Regions from separate parts of the Homo sapiens genome. Here all the other regions are linked to region 5. The links are contacts of gene promoters, found by promoter capture Hi-C in blood cells and fetal thymus (Javierre and others, 2016). All regions are on one chromosome and are shown on one strand. Each heading gives the region's core, a stretch centred on a gene start or on the middle of the fragment in contact. The rest is flanking DNA. Distances are from core to core; before and after follow the strand shown.

Region 1 (2,700 bases), core at 136-2,635, 400 kb after region 5:
CACAAGCCTCTCAGCTCAGGCACCATATGATGTGTTTCCAGACTTCCATACCTGGTGCAGTGCACACGTTGTGCTTGAGCTCTGCCTCCCATCCCAAAGGGCTGTTGTTTCTATGCTTCTTCCTTGGCTTCCCTCCCTGTTTCAGACACCTATGGCAAAGCCCCTGCAGCCAGTTCTCAGAGCACTTCTGGCCTGTGAATCTGGGTTAAGATAAAATGCCCATAAAATTCATTTAATTTGTTATAAGCCACTAACACTTTAGTATGAATTAGTGGGGCTCTAATTAGACTTTGCTATCTACTCATCTAAGATAACACAAACTAGCCCAATTATCTGGGAGCTACTTAACATTATCATAATCTTGCAGCAGGGGGCTTCTGGTGAGATCGTTTCCCCCTTTCTTAGATTTAATCATTTTTTTCTTCCTCCTTCCACTCATCTGTCCTTTTCAGAAACCCTCCTTTGCTTCCGTTCAGGAAACACTGAACTTTGCACTGTCTGCACAATCTTGGAGTTCCTCTTTCTCAGAAGATTTCTCAGGCTTCCAGATCAGAGTTTGGAAGTAAAGCAATGACTAAGAATAGTCCACACTATGTCAGAAAGCTGGCGCTTCTTGCAGGCCCTCCTTACTCACTCAGCCACGCAGGGAGAAGGAGAAGCAGACCCAGGTCATAGCCCACAGCTTGTGCTCTCCCACTGTGACCACATCTGTCTGTGTTACATGCACACTCACACACAGCAGTAAATGGCAAAGTGTAGGTGTTTGTTAATCGATATAATTTAATCTAATCATTATGTGACCTGCACTTTTCACTCATCACTAAGTATTGAAGAGGATCTGGTTGACACAGATAGATGTGGTTCATGCAGTTAACTTCTTCATGGCATATCAGTATCTGAATAACCCATGCGCTCGTCCGCTCTCCTGCTGATGGGCAGGCGGGCTGTCTTTAATTTCTAGCTGTTGCAAACCAAGCGACAGTGAGCTTTCTCACACATCTCTCTGTGCTCTCATGGAAGAGTTACTGTAGGGAATATTCCAAGAAGTAGAGTTGCAGGGTTGCAGACCACGTGTTTTTAAGCTTTCTAGATATTGCTGATTGTTTTCCAAAGGCATTCTGCCAGTAGACACCCCAGTAACTGTTTCTGAGATTCACTGTTTCCCTGCATCATCAACACTTCGCATCTTCAGATGTTTTCATTCTTGCGTGTGAAATAGTATCTCATATATTTTCCCCTTCTTAAACTGCTACTATTTCTTGCCTTCTGGGAATGCACCATAATTTACTTAGCCATTCCCCTATTCACTGACGTTCAGTTCATTTCCCATTTGTAGATGTGTTTGTTTGTTTTGGGTATTGCAGTACAAACAATGCTGCCAGAACCAACCTTGTACAAACATCTTGATGTACTGGTGCTTTAATTAATGGCAGATCCATTTCCAGAACTCAGATTGCTGGAACAAATCAGCATTTTTTCATCTTAAGAAATACCGACAAAAATCCTTTCACAAAATTGTATCGTAATTTGCGGTCCTACCAGCTGTGTATGAAAAGATACTTTTGCCCATCCATACATTTGTCAGTACCCGATGACCTTGTTTGACAGTCTAAAAATCCCTAAGACCTTGTGGTTGTTTTAGTCTGCACTCCCCTGACCACTAATAAGCATCACTGCATTGCCTATTTATAAGCTTTTTTTCCCTATTGTTCTTTCAATTATTAATCTAAAGGAGCTCTTTCTATATCAGGATAGTATCCGTTTGTTACATATGTATAGCATTTATTATTTGTCTTCTGTTGCTTTTGCCACAGGAGATTTTAGTTCTTTATTTTATTAACTATGTATTGTTTACATCTATAACTTTTGGGTTTCCTCCTTTGCTTAAGAAAACCCTTTCCATCCCAGTGTTACACAAATACTTCCCCCGTAATTTTGTCTAATACTTTTATAATTTCCCCTTTGAGTTTAGAGCTTTCATTCATCTACCTTTTTTTTTTTTTTTGAGACAGAGTCTTGCTCTGTTTCCTAGGCTGGAGTGCAGTGGCATGATCATGGTTCACTGCTGCCTCAAACTAACCCAGGCTCAATCCATCTTCCCACGTCAGCCTCCCAAGTAGCTGGGGCTACAGGCGTGCGCCACCATGCCCCACTCCTGCCACGTGTTTTCATACATACCTGGGTGGAACTCTCCCGGTAGCATTCGTTCCTGACTTGGATGACAGGGATGATGTCTTTCCTCCTGACTTGGATGACAGGGATGATGATACCCACGGTACAAGCTGGCATAGGATGGCAGTCATGAGCTCTGGATTCGAGTGTCTGGGCTCAACTCACACTTACTGGCACTTTCTCCAGTCCTGTGAAAGTTGTTTAATCTGTCTGTGCCTCACTTCCCTCATCTGTAAAATGAGGGAAATAACAGTGCCTTCCTTTTAGGGGTTTGAGATAATAGGTTAAACCATGAAAACACAGAGAATAGTAGTAGGCACATAGAAAGCACTGGATAAGTGTTGGCGAGTTTTGTATTATGTATACATAGTCTCTGGGTCTGTTTCCGCACTTTATGTGTTAGCCTATTTTTCTACTCGAGACCCCAGCACCAGCTTTTGGTTATCATAACTTTCTAATAAATGTTAATGTCTGTTACATATCTCACTGTTCTTTCTTAAGTTTTTCATAATGAGAATTACTTTGAAC
Region 2 (2,700 bases), core at 156-2,655, 420 kb after region 5:
GATCTCTGTTCGTAGAAGCTTTCTCAGGGACTGGCCCACCGAGTGGGGGACTGCAAGTGCCCGATGAGTGAATGAATGAACACATGTGTGAATGGAATTCAAGGCACTGCAGGCTATTCTGGAGGGTACTGGCCTGTCTCTTCGACAGGTGAGGTGCAGTAGAACAGCATCCCGTATAGATGCCAGTTTCTGACCTGGTTCTGAAAAGCCAGTCACCTACCTCTGCAGAGCTGCCTGGAGGGGGCGGGGGTTGTGAGGACCCCTGAGAGCTTGGTGTGAAGGGGCTCTGCAGAGGGAGGCATGGCTAGTGTGCGCAAGGTGACCTCTCTCCTGGTCTGCAGGATGGAGAACCTGTTCATCAACCGCTTCATGCACATGTTCCAGTCTTCTTGGAATGACTTCGCCGACTTTGAGAAAATCTTTGTCAAGATCAGCAACACTATTTCTGGTGAGTGTGCCTCTGGGGGCCCAAGTGGTGCTGGGGACAGGGGATGCTGCTCTCCTGTCTGATACTTGCCGGGAAATTGACAAGGGCCTTCCTGCCTGCTGCAGCATGGGGGCCTCGCTGCCACCATGCCACCCTGGACAGCACCCCCTACACTCCACACCTTTTACCATCACTGTGGTCACCCTTGTGCCCAGAGGTTTCTCCTCCTCAGATATTCAAGCTCGAGCACCCTCAACCTCATTTCACTATCAAAAGTCTCAAAAGTATCAGAACTTTTTCTTGGCACAAATCAATCATTTGTGCTTCTGAACAGAGCAAAGGCAGAACTTGGCTTGTGTTTTAGGTATTTACACAAAAGCAACTTTGGGTTCCTTTGGACTAGGATGTGTTTGATGAGAGCACTAGCTTCATAGTGGCCAGTCATGGCATGGGAAGGACGTTAGGAAGGCAGGAATGGCTGGACAAGAAGAGGTGCTGAAATCAGGACATGGGGAACCAAACTTGGCAAACTGCCCCCAGGGACTCTCCTCCACGCCCTCCTTCTTCCATCCTGGACACTCCATGCTGGGCTGAAGGACCTGAGTGCTCCAGGAGGCTTCTGAGCCACGAAGGGCCAGCTCAGGTATGATGAGTTGGTGCCACAGCCTGACCCAGTGATGGGCAGGGGGCAGCAGTTGGAGCTGTGCCCATCCAGGGAGCACTCGGGAGAGGAGACCAAGCAGGGACTCTGCTCTTAGGTGAGGTCAGGAGGGCCATGGCCCTGGCTGCCCTCTACTCAGAGCTCAGGGTGGGCCTCGCTTTTCTCCTGGTAGAGCGGGTCATGAATCACTGGCAGGAAGACCTGATGTTTGGCTACCAGTTCCTGAATGGCTGCAACCCTGTGTTGATCCGGCGCTGCACAGAGCTGCCCGAGAAGCTCCCGGTGACCACGGAGATGGTAGAGTGCAGCCTGGAGCGGCAGCTCAGCTTGGAGCAGGAGGTCCAGGTAGGGGTTGATGGGCTGGGGAAGTGGCCAAGGTCACAGTCTGTCAGGTGGAAGCCAGTTCCTCCTGGCCAGTGCTCATAGGCCACCAAGACGCTAACTGCAGGCCCATCTGGCCTACAGCAGCCGCTTCCTTTTCCTGGCAGCAGTGTCAGCCAGGGTCCTGGGCATTATGCAGACTGTCTTGTGCAACATCAGAGGAGGAATTGCGGGGAATGTTTCTCCATGATGCTCGAGTCTGGGAACATAATGTCAATATTTTCACTATCAGTATCAATAATTACAGGAGCTACCCTTGATTAGGGGCCTGTGGTGGGACAGGCATTGTGACAGGTGCTTTACACACAAGGTCATCAGTTGTCACCCACCTTGCAAAGGGGAGAACACTGGAGAAAGAAGCAGACCTTGTGTGAGAATAAAAAAGGGGCACGAGGAGAAACCCAACAGAATGGTTGATTTTCTCGTTAGAAATGCTGCTGCCCATGCTCCTGTCGCACCCTCCTCCCCACCCTCACCTGCAGACTCAGCTGCCTCCGGCTGCAAGGCTGACCTAGTCTTGAGACAGAAGAAGTTCAAACCAACTCCACCTGGATCTGGTGGGGCTCAGCAACAGGCGCTGGCCCATCAGCCTGCCTCTTCCCCATGGATCCAGCGTGATGGGGCCTCCTGCCACCCAGGCCCTGCTGCCTATCCCCAGGTGTCCAGGTGGCCTCTGCTGCTTCCAGTCTTTTGAGCTCAGCTTACCCTGAGGCCCTAGTTGGAGAGGGATGGTTGGTGCCCTTTAGAGATAAACCTACAGCCCCAGTACCTGGCCCACCTGAATCTAGAGGGCCACCCACCCAGCTGAAGTCCCTGGGCAAGTCTCCTGCCCCAGTGCAGGCAGTGTTTCCTAACCTCCTCCTCCTCCTGCACCCAACCAGGCCCAGAACACTTCCTGGTCATGTGAACAGCTGACAGTTACAATCCCCCACACACTGAGAGAGCATCTGTGTTCCTGAGTGGACTGAATTGCTAGATGTAGTAACATTGATTTGGTGGCTATAGGTTTCAAACTTCAAGTCAGAGATCATAGAACTTTAAGCCATATAGAATCCTAGAATTGGAAGACTCTGAGCAGCCATCTCTGCACCCAGCAGCCAAGGAGTGGCCATCCTCAGCACCTGGCAGGGCATCAGCCTCCCACTGGGAGTCCCGGCCACCTCCAGGGCACGTGGGTTATGAGTCACCTTTCCTTTGAGCTGACCCACCCCTCACTGACTAGACTCTTAAA
Region 3 (2,700 bases), core at 97-2,596, 440 kb after region 5:
ACCTGGACACAATAGAGGGTCGGGGGCCTCAGCCAGAAATGGATCCAGGGACTCAAGCAATGCCCCAGGGTGCATGCACACTGGCTCCCTCTTTCTGTCTCTTTCACCTGTGTTGGCATCACACTCTCCTGCTGCAGACAGGCCCCCATGGGAGAGGGCACAGGAGCTCATCATAGTAGCTCCACCTCAGGTTCTCATGTGGCCATTATCTCCCAGCCGCATCTAAACAGAAAGTGCTGGGGGGCAGCTCTGGTTGGTCCTGCTTGGGCTGAATGCCCACCGTGGACCAATCTCTGGCACCCCAGCACCCAAGTCCTTCTTCAAAACCTCTGTGGCACCGACAGCCCAGCCCCCTGGGTGTATTTGCATGTGTGTGTGTGCACGTGGACACACATATGTGCCAGTGAGCTTGTGAGTGTGTCTGCATCACTCAGAAGCCGGGATCGGGATCAGGACCAGGATCCCTCCTTGTGGGTCTCTCCAGCCCTCACCTGAGCACACAACAGGCCCTCAACAGAGTTGCATGGGTCCTGGAAACTGAGGGTCACTGAGAGCAATGACTGAGGGTCGTGTGCTCAGCACTAGAGCAGACTTCACAGCCCAGGCCCGCTGGTGCTGGGGTCCCCCACACACCTGCCCACGCCTGCTGCCCTCCTGTGGCTGGGAGCGCACCCTTCCCTCTTGTACTCTGCAGCCCCACGGTTCAGTCCCTTGCATTGGATTGGGCGGGAGGCTCCTCCCTAGCACCTCTCCACCCGGCTGCCCTTGTCATTCTCTGCGTTAAACATCCCTCCCCCATCTCACAGGACAAGGGCTTGCACCTCTGCCTGCCTGGCCTCCTCGCCTCCCCTGGCACATTTCCTCAGGGATGGGTCTGGACAGCTGTGGGAGGAGCCACCCGCTCAGGGCACTCTACCTCCCACTCCAGGCCAACGCCACAGGGGGCGGTGGGCACGTGCAGATGGTGCAGAGGGCCATGAAGGACCTGACCTATGCCTCCCTGTGCTTTCCCGAGGCCATCAAGGCCCGGGGCATGGAGAGCAAAGAAGACATCCCCTACTACTTCTACCGGGACGACGGGCTCCTGGTGTGGGAAGCCATCAGGACGTGAGCGCCCGCGGGGCGGTGGTCCTGGGGGAGGAGCCGGGACCCCTGCCTGACTACCTGGGGCGGGCCTGGCCCCTCCACCGCTAGCGCTGAATGGGGACGGGGTGGGGGAGTCCCAGCGTCCGTGAGGGGGTTGCCGCCGGGCACCGCTCCGCAGACCTGGCTGGGTCGCCCACCCCGGCTGCGCCCCCTGAGCCAGGTTCACGGCCGAGGTGGTAGACATCTACTACGAGGGCGACCAGGTGGTGGAGGAGGACCCGGAGCTGCAGGACTTCGTGAACGATGTCTACGTGTACGGCATGCGGGGCCGCAAGTCCTCAGGTAGGGCCTCCGGGACGTCTCCGGACCCGGCTCCCCCGCAGTCGGCAGCGCTGGCCCCTCCGCCACCCCTCCGGGGTGTCCTGCCCAGGGTGCCCTCCGGCCTTGGGGCAGGGAATCCGGGCACGGGGTGGGCGCCGGGCCCTGGGGTCCTCAGGGACTGGGCCTCAGCCCGCCGGTGGTTCCACCCTAGGCTTCCCCAAGTCGGTCAAGAGCCGGGAGCAGCTGTCGGAGTACCTGACCGTGGTGATCTTCACCGCCTCCGCCCAGCACGCCGCGGTCAACTTCGGCCAGGTAGGCAGGGCCGGGCCCGCTGGGCAGGGCTCCCTTCTCAAGGCCGCTGCCTCCTCCCCCGCCCCGGTTCTGCACGCGTACTGCACCCTCGGACAGCCTCGGGGCCTGGCACGGGACTTGCAGGATGGATTCTGCCCGCTCAGCCAAGGGCGCTGGCCGCGGGGAAAGAGGATGGACGGACTGCAGGGCCCGCTGGAGTTGGGGGGCACGGGGAGGACGGGGCCCAGGGGGCAGCTGGGCAGCAGGGCTTCGGGGGTGCCCACGCTTGCTGGCGGTCGTCTCCGCAGTACGACTGGTGCTCCTGGATCCCCAATGCGCCCCCAACCATGCGAGCCCCGCCACCGACTGCCAAGGGCGTGGTGACCATTGAGCAGATCGTGGACACGCTGCCCGACCGCGGCCGCTCCTGCTGGCATCTGGGTGCAGTGTGGGCGCTGAGCCAGTTCCAGGAAAACGAGGTGAAGCTGGGCAGGGCGGGGCACAGCCCCAGGTCACCCCAGGTTAAGCGGTTCCTCAGCCTCAGGGCTTTGTGACTCGGGCCCCAAGGCTCACTTGGAGCAAAGGAATCCTGACTTCCAAGGCTGGAAGGGCCCAGAAGGCTGCAGCCGCCACCAGGTCCCCCGGCCTCAGCCTGGACAGAGCTCAGGGTGTGCAGGGCAGGAGAGCACACAGCCCAGGCTTTGCTCACTGTCACCAGAGGGTCGTGTGTGACGCCCCCTCCCCCCAGCTATTGACAAAGTTCTTGCACATGTGTTTTACCCTGGTACTCCAGAGGGAATGACCAAGAGTTTCCTGGGTTCCTTCCGGACACGTGCATCTCATTTAACCTAACAACTGAATCCGGTGTGTCTTCGTGGATGCACCCGCTTTGGGGTAGCTCAGTACTGCATAGAATGGCCGGACCAGTCCAACCTGCTCCAGACTGCTGGGTGTCTGAGTTGTTCCCGGCCAATGTGTTGGTCCCTCACTGGACATCCTTGT
Region 4 (2,700 bases), core at 169-2,668, 380 kb after region 5:
AGAAATCTTAGTTGGCCCATTTCATTCTGTGCTGGTACTTTTAAGAAAGCTAAGGGCAATAGCGTGGTGTTTAATATATGATACTTGAATATGTTCAACAAGTGTAGAAAAGTGTTATAATGATTCATGCTTCTTAAGTCAGTGAGTATTCTTACATTCATGAAAAATTAATTCTAGAATACCTCCTTCTTGTGAATGGGAATATATTAGTGGAGCATAAATATTTCTTTGGTATGACCCTCAATCCGTCTCTCATCTCCCAGTCTCCCCCTCTGAGCCATCTTTTCCCTACATTCTGCCCCCTCTTCTGCCTCCTCTTCCTTCCCCTGCTCCCAGTTCCCTAAATGCCCCCCGTTTCTGCTCTCTACCCTACAACTCTCCCTTCTTTTTTGCTCTGAATTTTCCTCTACACTCTGTCTTCCAGCCACCTCTCAGAGGCCCCTTCTCTGCTCCCTCAATCTCCGGCTCTCTGTCCCACATTTTCCCCCTTCTCTGCCCCTTGGTCTCCCTATCCACTACCCCAATCCCTCTCTCCGTCCCTTGTTTTCCTCAGCTCTTCCCCATAGCCTCCCCCTCTCTCATCCCGAGTCTCTGTTTTGTCTGGCCCCCAATCTTCCTCTCTGCTCTACAGCTTCCTCCTCCCACAGCCCCTCATTAGTCCCCCTCCAAGATGGGTAGTCTGGGGGTGGGGCACACATCCTTGCTTCCGCAGAGAGATCCGTCTCCCTGTCCCAGCAACAGCAGAGATCTGATGAAAGACAGATGAAAACTTTCCTAAAATGCTGATAGAAAGCTCACATGAAAACTGACCAACTGACTCTTTGCCGAAATATTCAAAAGCTTTAAAACTACATATCCAATAAAAAGTTAAAAGCAACAAGCAAAATCAGCAAAGTGGCCCCTTGTGAAATGAGGCCGGTGAGTTGCAGGTTTCCCTTGTTTCTCTCCAGCATCTGCACCACCACGCCACCCACTTCTGTCCCCAGAAACTGTGTCCAGCCTTCCTCCTCCCACGTGTGAATCCCCCGGGGACCCTGCCCTCCCAGTTCCCCACATCTGAAATGTGCTACCCATGCCCATCCTCCTACTCATCTGCCCTCTGAAATCTGATCAGCCCCTAAAAGCTGCCTGAAATACCCTCTTATGAAGCTTTTCCCTGTCCTTCCATGCCACTCCACATTGCCCCTTTACACTCCATCCAGGGTACAAACCAGGGCTCAAAGCTGGGCCTTCTAGCTTCCGGTTCAGGGCTTTTCTCAAGATGTGGCCTTGGGGAACTGTGGGAGGAACCTGGGCTTGGCCATCACACAGGTGTAGGTTCTGATCTTGAGGCCACCATTGCTCTCTGAGCCTCAGTTTCTATCTGTAAAGCAGGATAATCACTCGCTCGGCCATTCCCAGGCCCAGTGCTTCCTGAGGGCCTGTTGGGGGGTGTCCACTGTTGATAGTGCCCACCATAATTCAGTGTGTCACCTGAGAATTTAATGTGTCACAGCAAATAGACAAATATAGCATCAGCCCAGTGTACTTGGCCCAGAGAGGAGGGAGGAAGGTGGCCATTGTAGTTCCACAAACCTTCCGAAGATATTTTGCAGTTTGACACATGTGACCCTGGTATTTTCCTGGAAGGAGGCCTTTATCTGTCATTCTTCCATTAGTGGCCCCTGGGATGTTAGAACCACAGCCATCAAGCTTTGTCTTTTACTCCCTGAGTTGGGTCAAGGCTGGAGCCCTCTGCCCCTTGTTCACCTCTTATCATATTCAGGCTTGAAGCCAGCACCAGGAAAGTGGCTGGGCTGGCCATAGACCAGCCAGACTGCAGGCCTGGCCCCCTCCTGCTGTGGAAGTCCCTGTCAGATGGCAGATGGAGTCCTTGTAAATCTGCCTAGTGATTTCACCCCAAGTGAAACTCAGGGGCTCTCCACCAGGTGCCTGCAGGTGTAGGTAGGGCAGGGGGCCAGGAGTGTCCCAGTCCCCTGTGACTGCACCACAGGTGTGCTGGAGGGTCACCCCACTGTCCACTCCCTCAGAGAAGCTGCTCAGTCTCTTCGTGTGGGTCGTCACCCCCAGGTAGACATCGGGCCCTCCCTGTGGGACCTGCCCAGTCCTGGAATGCCTCCTCAGCCCATCTCCCTCCCCTCTTAGTCCAAGGTACTGGGAGCCTCCCTCCCATGAGAGTGTCCCTGTTAGCTCCTCCCACCCCACCCCAGCTTTCCTGTCATCTATCCCCTGGGGACACCTTCCTCCCTCTCCAGCCCCTCAGAGCCATAGGAAAGCTACTTCCCCTGCAGCAGCCACACTCAGACCAGGCCCGGGCCTCTGGTGGCCGCCCCTCAGTCCTCACCGCACACAGACTTGCTCTGCCTGCCCCACCAGCATTCAGAATGCCTCCCACTCTCCCTCTGTCCTCACAGCCCTGTCTCCAGCCTTTCAGGAGTTCCTTCTGGGCTTTGAGTGAAGGAGTTTGAGGTCACAGGTTCAGTTTCCTCCTCCCATGTGTGCTCCAGTTACTCGGATTGGCACATGTAGTCACGAAGTGGCCGTGACGCAGGGGCCCATGCTAGCTCACAGGCGGTGTGGGGCCTGGTGCCCTGCAACCCCCTGGATTCAGGAAGGGGCACTGGTGGTTCTGATGCACACAACCGGTGGCCTGTGCCTCTGGAGAAAGGAGGCCACCCAGGATGGTGTCATTTCATTTTC
Region 5 (2,700 bases), core at 141-2,640:
ACTGATTTGCAAGACAGATATGATAATCTGTGCTTCATGAGACTATGGTGAAGATGAATAACCAGAAGATAAGATGTAAAAGTACTTTGTAAACAATAAGGCATCTTATAAATTCATTCATTCAACAGCTATTTACTGAGTGTCTGTTCCCTGCTGAGCACTGTTTTCAGCACTGCAGACACAATAAAGAACTAAAGAGACAGATCATGAGAGGCATCGGGTGCCACTGCGAGGTCCTTGGCTTTGCTCTAATAAGTTGGGAAGCCTTTGAAGGTTTTGAACAAATGAATGACATGATCTAACTTAGGTTTAAGAGGATTACTCTGGGGCCGTGAATAGACTGTAGGGCAACCCGTCTGGAAGCCAATATAATAATCCAGAAGGTGGATGAAGGTGGCTTGGTGGTTATAGCAGTGGAAGTGTTGAAAGTGGCTTGATAATGAATATATTTTAACGATGAAGCCGACAGAATTTGTGGATAAATCACAGGTGAATTTTGGATGAAAAAAAGAAGAGACAACAGTGACATCAAGGTTTTTGGCTTGAGCAACTGGAAAGATGATGGGATCTTCACCCATCCCTGGGAAGAAGACTGTTGCAAGAACAGGTTAGGTAGATATCAGGAATTCATTTGGGGGGTATGTTAGGTTTGGGATGTCCATTACACATGCAAATGCAGCTCTTGAGTAATCAGTTCGATATACAAGTCTAAAGTTCAATAACATTTATGTCCCACAGTCAGACTGGAGTTACCAATGCGGGAGTCTTCAGCATGCAGCAATAGCATTGGAAGCCAAAAGGCGGAGGAGCTCCCCAGGGAGTGGGGGAACACGGAGGTCAGCTGGTCAGATGACTGAGCACGGCCAGGATGGCTGAGGAGGAGCCTGGAAGGAATAAGAACAAAGAGAGATCATTACTAATGAGCAACAAAAGGGGTGTGTTGAAATCAGACTTTGGAGCCACAAAGAACCATTCCAATTCTGGGTCGTCCGCTTACACACGGTGAACGGAGCACATTTCTTCTCTGAGCCTTGGTTCCTTTCCTGTAAATGGAGTATAACCACTCCCATCTTGCAGGAGCTTTTTGGTGATAATTAAGGTGACTTCGTGAAAAGTACCAGGGTCTCAAAAATCTCAAAATTTGTGGAAAGTATGCAGTTTCTAGGTTGGAGAGGCTAGAGTTTGGTTTCAAAAGCCTCGACCACACACAGGGGCGGTTACAGCTCTTGAGGTCCCGGGGGTCACAGGACGCCTTCCGAGTTGGGGGGAGGAGAAAACAAAACCACAGGAAGAAACGAACAACGCTTTCGGGTGGGCCCGGGACCATAGAGGGTCGCTCCGCCACTTTCCTAGAGCGACCGCGGCGGCGCCAGAGCGCGGCGAGGCCCTCACTTCCGGCGGCGCGGGAGGCGCCCAGCGAGCCAGAGTGGTGGCTGGTCCCGCGCGGTGAGTGGGATTGGGGCACTTGGGGCGCTCGGGGCCTGCGTCGGATACTCGGGTCCGCTCGGGAGCGCGCTGGCCGCAACGAGGGCGGCGCGGGCCCGGGCGATGGCGTGGCTTGCGTCTCCCGCCTCCGGGCAGGGCCTGGCCGCCGGGCGGGGGCGGGAGGGCCACGCGGGCCCAGGGTGGGGCCGCGGCCTGCGCGGCGGGCGGGCCGGGTCAATGAGGAGCGGCCGGCGGAGTGCTGGGAACGGGAGGCTTGGACTGGGGGCCCGGGCGAGGCGCGGCCCGCGGCGGGTGGAACTGGGCGGGTGAGCAGCAGCCCCGGCCCCTTCCGTCGCTCGGAGCGTTCGAGGACTAGATACGTGGAACAAATGCTTAGGCAGCACAGGGCTGCTCTGAGCGGTTTTCAGATTCAGACTCATTGCAACTTCTAACATCTTGATGGTGTTGCCACTTTATCATTACCCTCCCCATTTTACGAGGAAACTGAGGCACATTCCAGTTAGCTGGGTGTGCAAGAACAGCAGCTTCTGTCACTCAGGTTTAACTTCGTGCTTGCCCCTGCTGGGGAGCTATGCAAAGCACGGGTCGCCGCGCTGGACTGAGCAATGGAAGATGTGGCTGCCACTAAGAGTACAGGCTCTGGAGTCAAACTGCTAGGGTCTGGGAACCCGGCCAGTGCCTTCTAGCATTGTGCCCTCGTTTCCTTAACTTAAAACGGAAATAACTGCATAAAGGTGCCAGGAGAATTAAAGAGCTAGCACAGAATCAAGTTACACAGTGTCTGGCACATACTAGTATGATTGCCTCATCCGTAGGTGGATTTGACAGTCTGAGTTTCTGACTAGATCTGACTTCCATTGTATTAAATGCGTGTGCTTTTATGTATAATGACCATTATAGTTATTAAAAAAAAAAAAAAGCAACACCAACACCATGTACCTAACACAATGTCTCCTGTGTGGTAGATGTTCTGTAAATATTTGCTTAAGTTAAGGAGTGGGTAGTCCTAACTGTAATCTTGTGTTATATGCGGCTTACTCTTACGCTGACCATAATTACAGCTGATGTAATTATTAAATATCCAGATAAAGTCCTGGACCTAAAGTCTCAATTATACAATAAGATGAAAGGAAGGCAAGAAAAATTATGTTTTTGTTTTCATTTATTTGCTTTATATGTTTGTATGCAAAGAAACCCAGAATAATTGTTTCTATTTTAAATTCCACATTCTGACACAAGATAATGAAAAATAGT

What was found. The method cuts DNA at HindIII sites, captures the fragments that hold promoters and counts their contacts. A CHiCAGO score of 5 or more calls a contact.
Region 1: a fragment that was not itself captured here is called in contact with the fragment with the promoter of ZNF22 in region 5 in 1 of 17 cell types (erythroblasts); the score reaches 6.1 in erythroblasts.
Region 2: a contact is called between a fragment that was not itself captured here and the fragment with the promoter of ZNF22 in region 5, in 3 of 17 cell types (erythroblasts, endothelial precursors and fetal thymus). The highest score is 7.0, in erythroblasts.
Region 3: a fragment that was not itself captured here is called in contact with the fragment with the promoter of ZNF22 in region 5 in 1 of 17 cell types (fetal thymus); the score reaches 5.2 in fetal thymus.
Region 4: a contact is called between a fragment that was not itself captured here and the fragment with the promoter of ZNF22 in region 5, in 1 of 17 cell types (M2 macrophages). The highest score is 5.1, in M2 macrophages.

Annotation. Positions count from the first base shown.
Region 1 is chr10:45,403,750-45,406,449 of GRCh38, forward strand. All of the region lies in intron 3 of ALOX5 (arachidonate 5-lipoxygenase), which reads left to right. Among named protein-coding and RNA genes, the nearest start is that of ALOX5, 31 kb to the left of the region's middle. The HindIII fragment of the contact is 611 bases long and covers 1,081-1,691 here.
Region 2 is chr10:45,423,700-45,426,399 of GRCh38, forward strand. It overlaps ALOX5 (arachidonate 5-lipoxygenase), which reads left to right. Exons shown (of 14, transcript NM_000698.5): 5 at 342-448; 6 at 1,261-1,433. Among named protein-coding and RNA genes, the nearest start is that of ALOX5, 51 kb to the left of the region's middle. RefSeq lists an enhancer at 2,168-2,668. The HindIII fragment of the contact is 2,778 bases long and covers 17-2,700 here.
Region 3 is chr10:45,442,110-45,444,809 of GRCh38, forward strand. It overlaps ALOX5 (arachidonate 5-lipoxygenase), which reads left to right. Exons shown (of 14, transcript NM_000698.5): 10 at 929-1,107; 11 at 1,307-1,428; 12 at 1,619-1,719; 13 at 2,007-2,177. It overlaps LOC102724323 (a long non-coding RNA gene), which reads right to left. Exons shown (of 3, transcript NR_120674.1): 3 at 2,459-2,700. Among named protein-coding and RNA genes, the nearest start is that of ALOX5, 69 kb to the left of the region's middle. RefSeq lists enhancers at 61-831, 832-1,600. The HindIII fragment of the contact is 3,018 bases long and covers 1-2,700 here.
Region 4 is chr10:45,377,041-45,379,740 of GRCh38, forward strand. All of the region lies in intron 1 of ALOX5 (arachidonate 5-lipoxygenase), which reads left to right. Among named protein-coding and RNA genes, the nearest start is that of ALOX5, 4.2 kb to the left of the region's middle. The HindIII fragment of the contact is 543 bases long and covers 1,148-1,690 here.
Region 5 is chr10:44,999,533-45,002,232 of GRCh38, forward strand. It overlaps ZNF22 (zinc finger protein 22), which reads left to right and starts at 1,391. Exons shown (of 2, transcript NM_006963.5): 1 at 1,391-1,446. It overlaps LOC124902530, which reads left to right. Exons shown (of 3, transcript XM_047426129.1): 3 at 1,248-2,700. The coding sequence ends at 1,877. It overlaps ZNF22-AS1 (ZNF22 antisense RNA 1), which reads right to left and starts at 1,271. Exons shown (of 4, transcript NR_126421.2): 1 at 998-1,271; 2 at 754-884. RefSeq lists a silencer at 1,431-1,780 and an enhancer at 1,507-2,007. The HindIII fragment of the contact is 6,687 bases long and covers 1-2,700 here.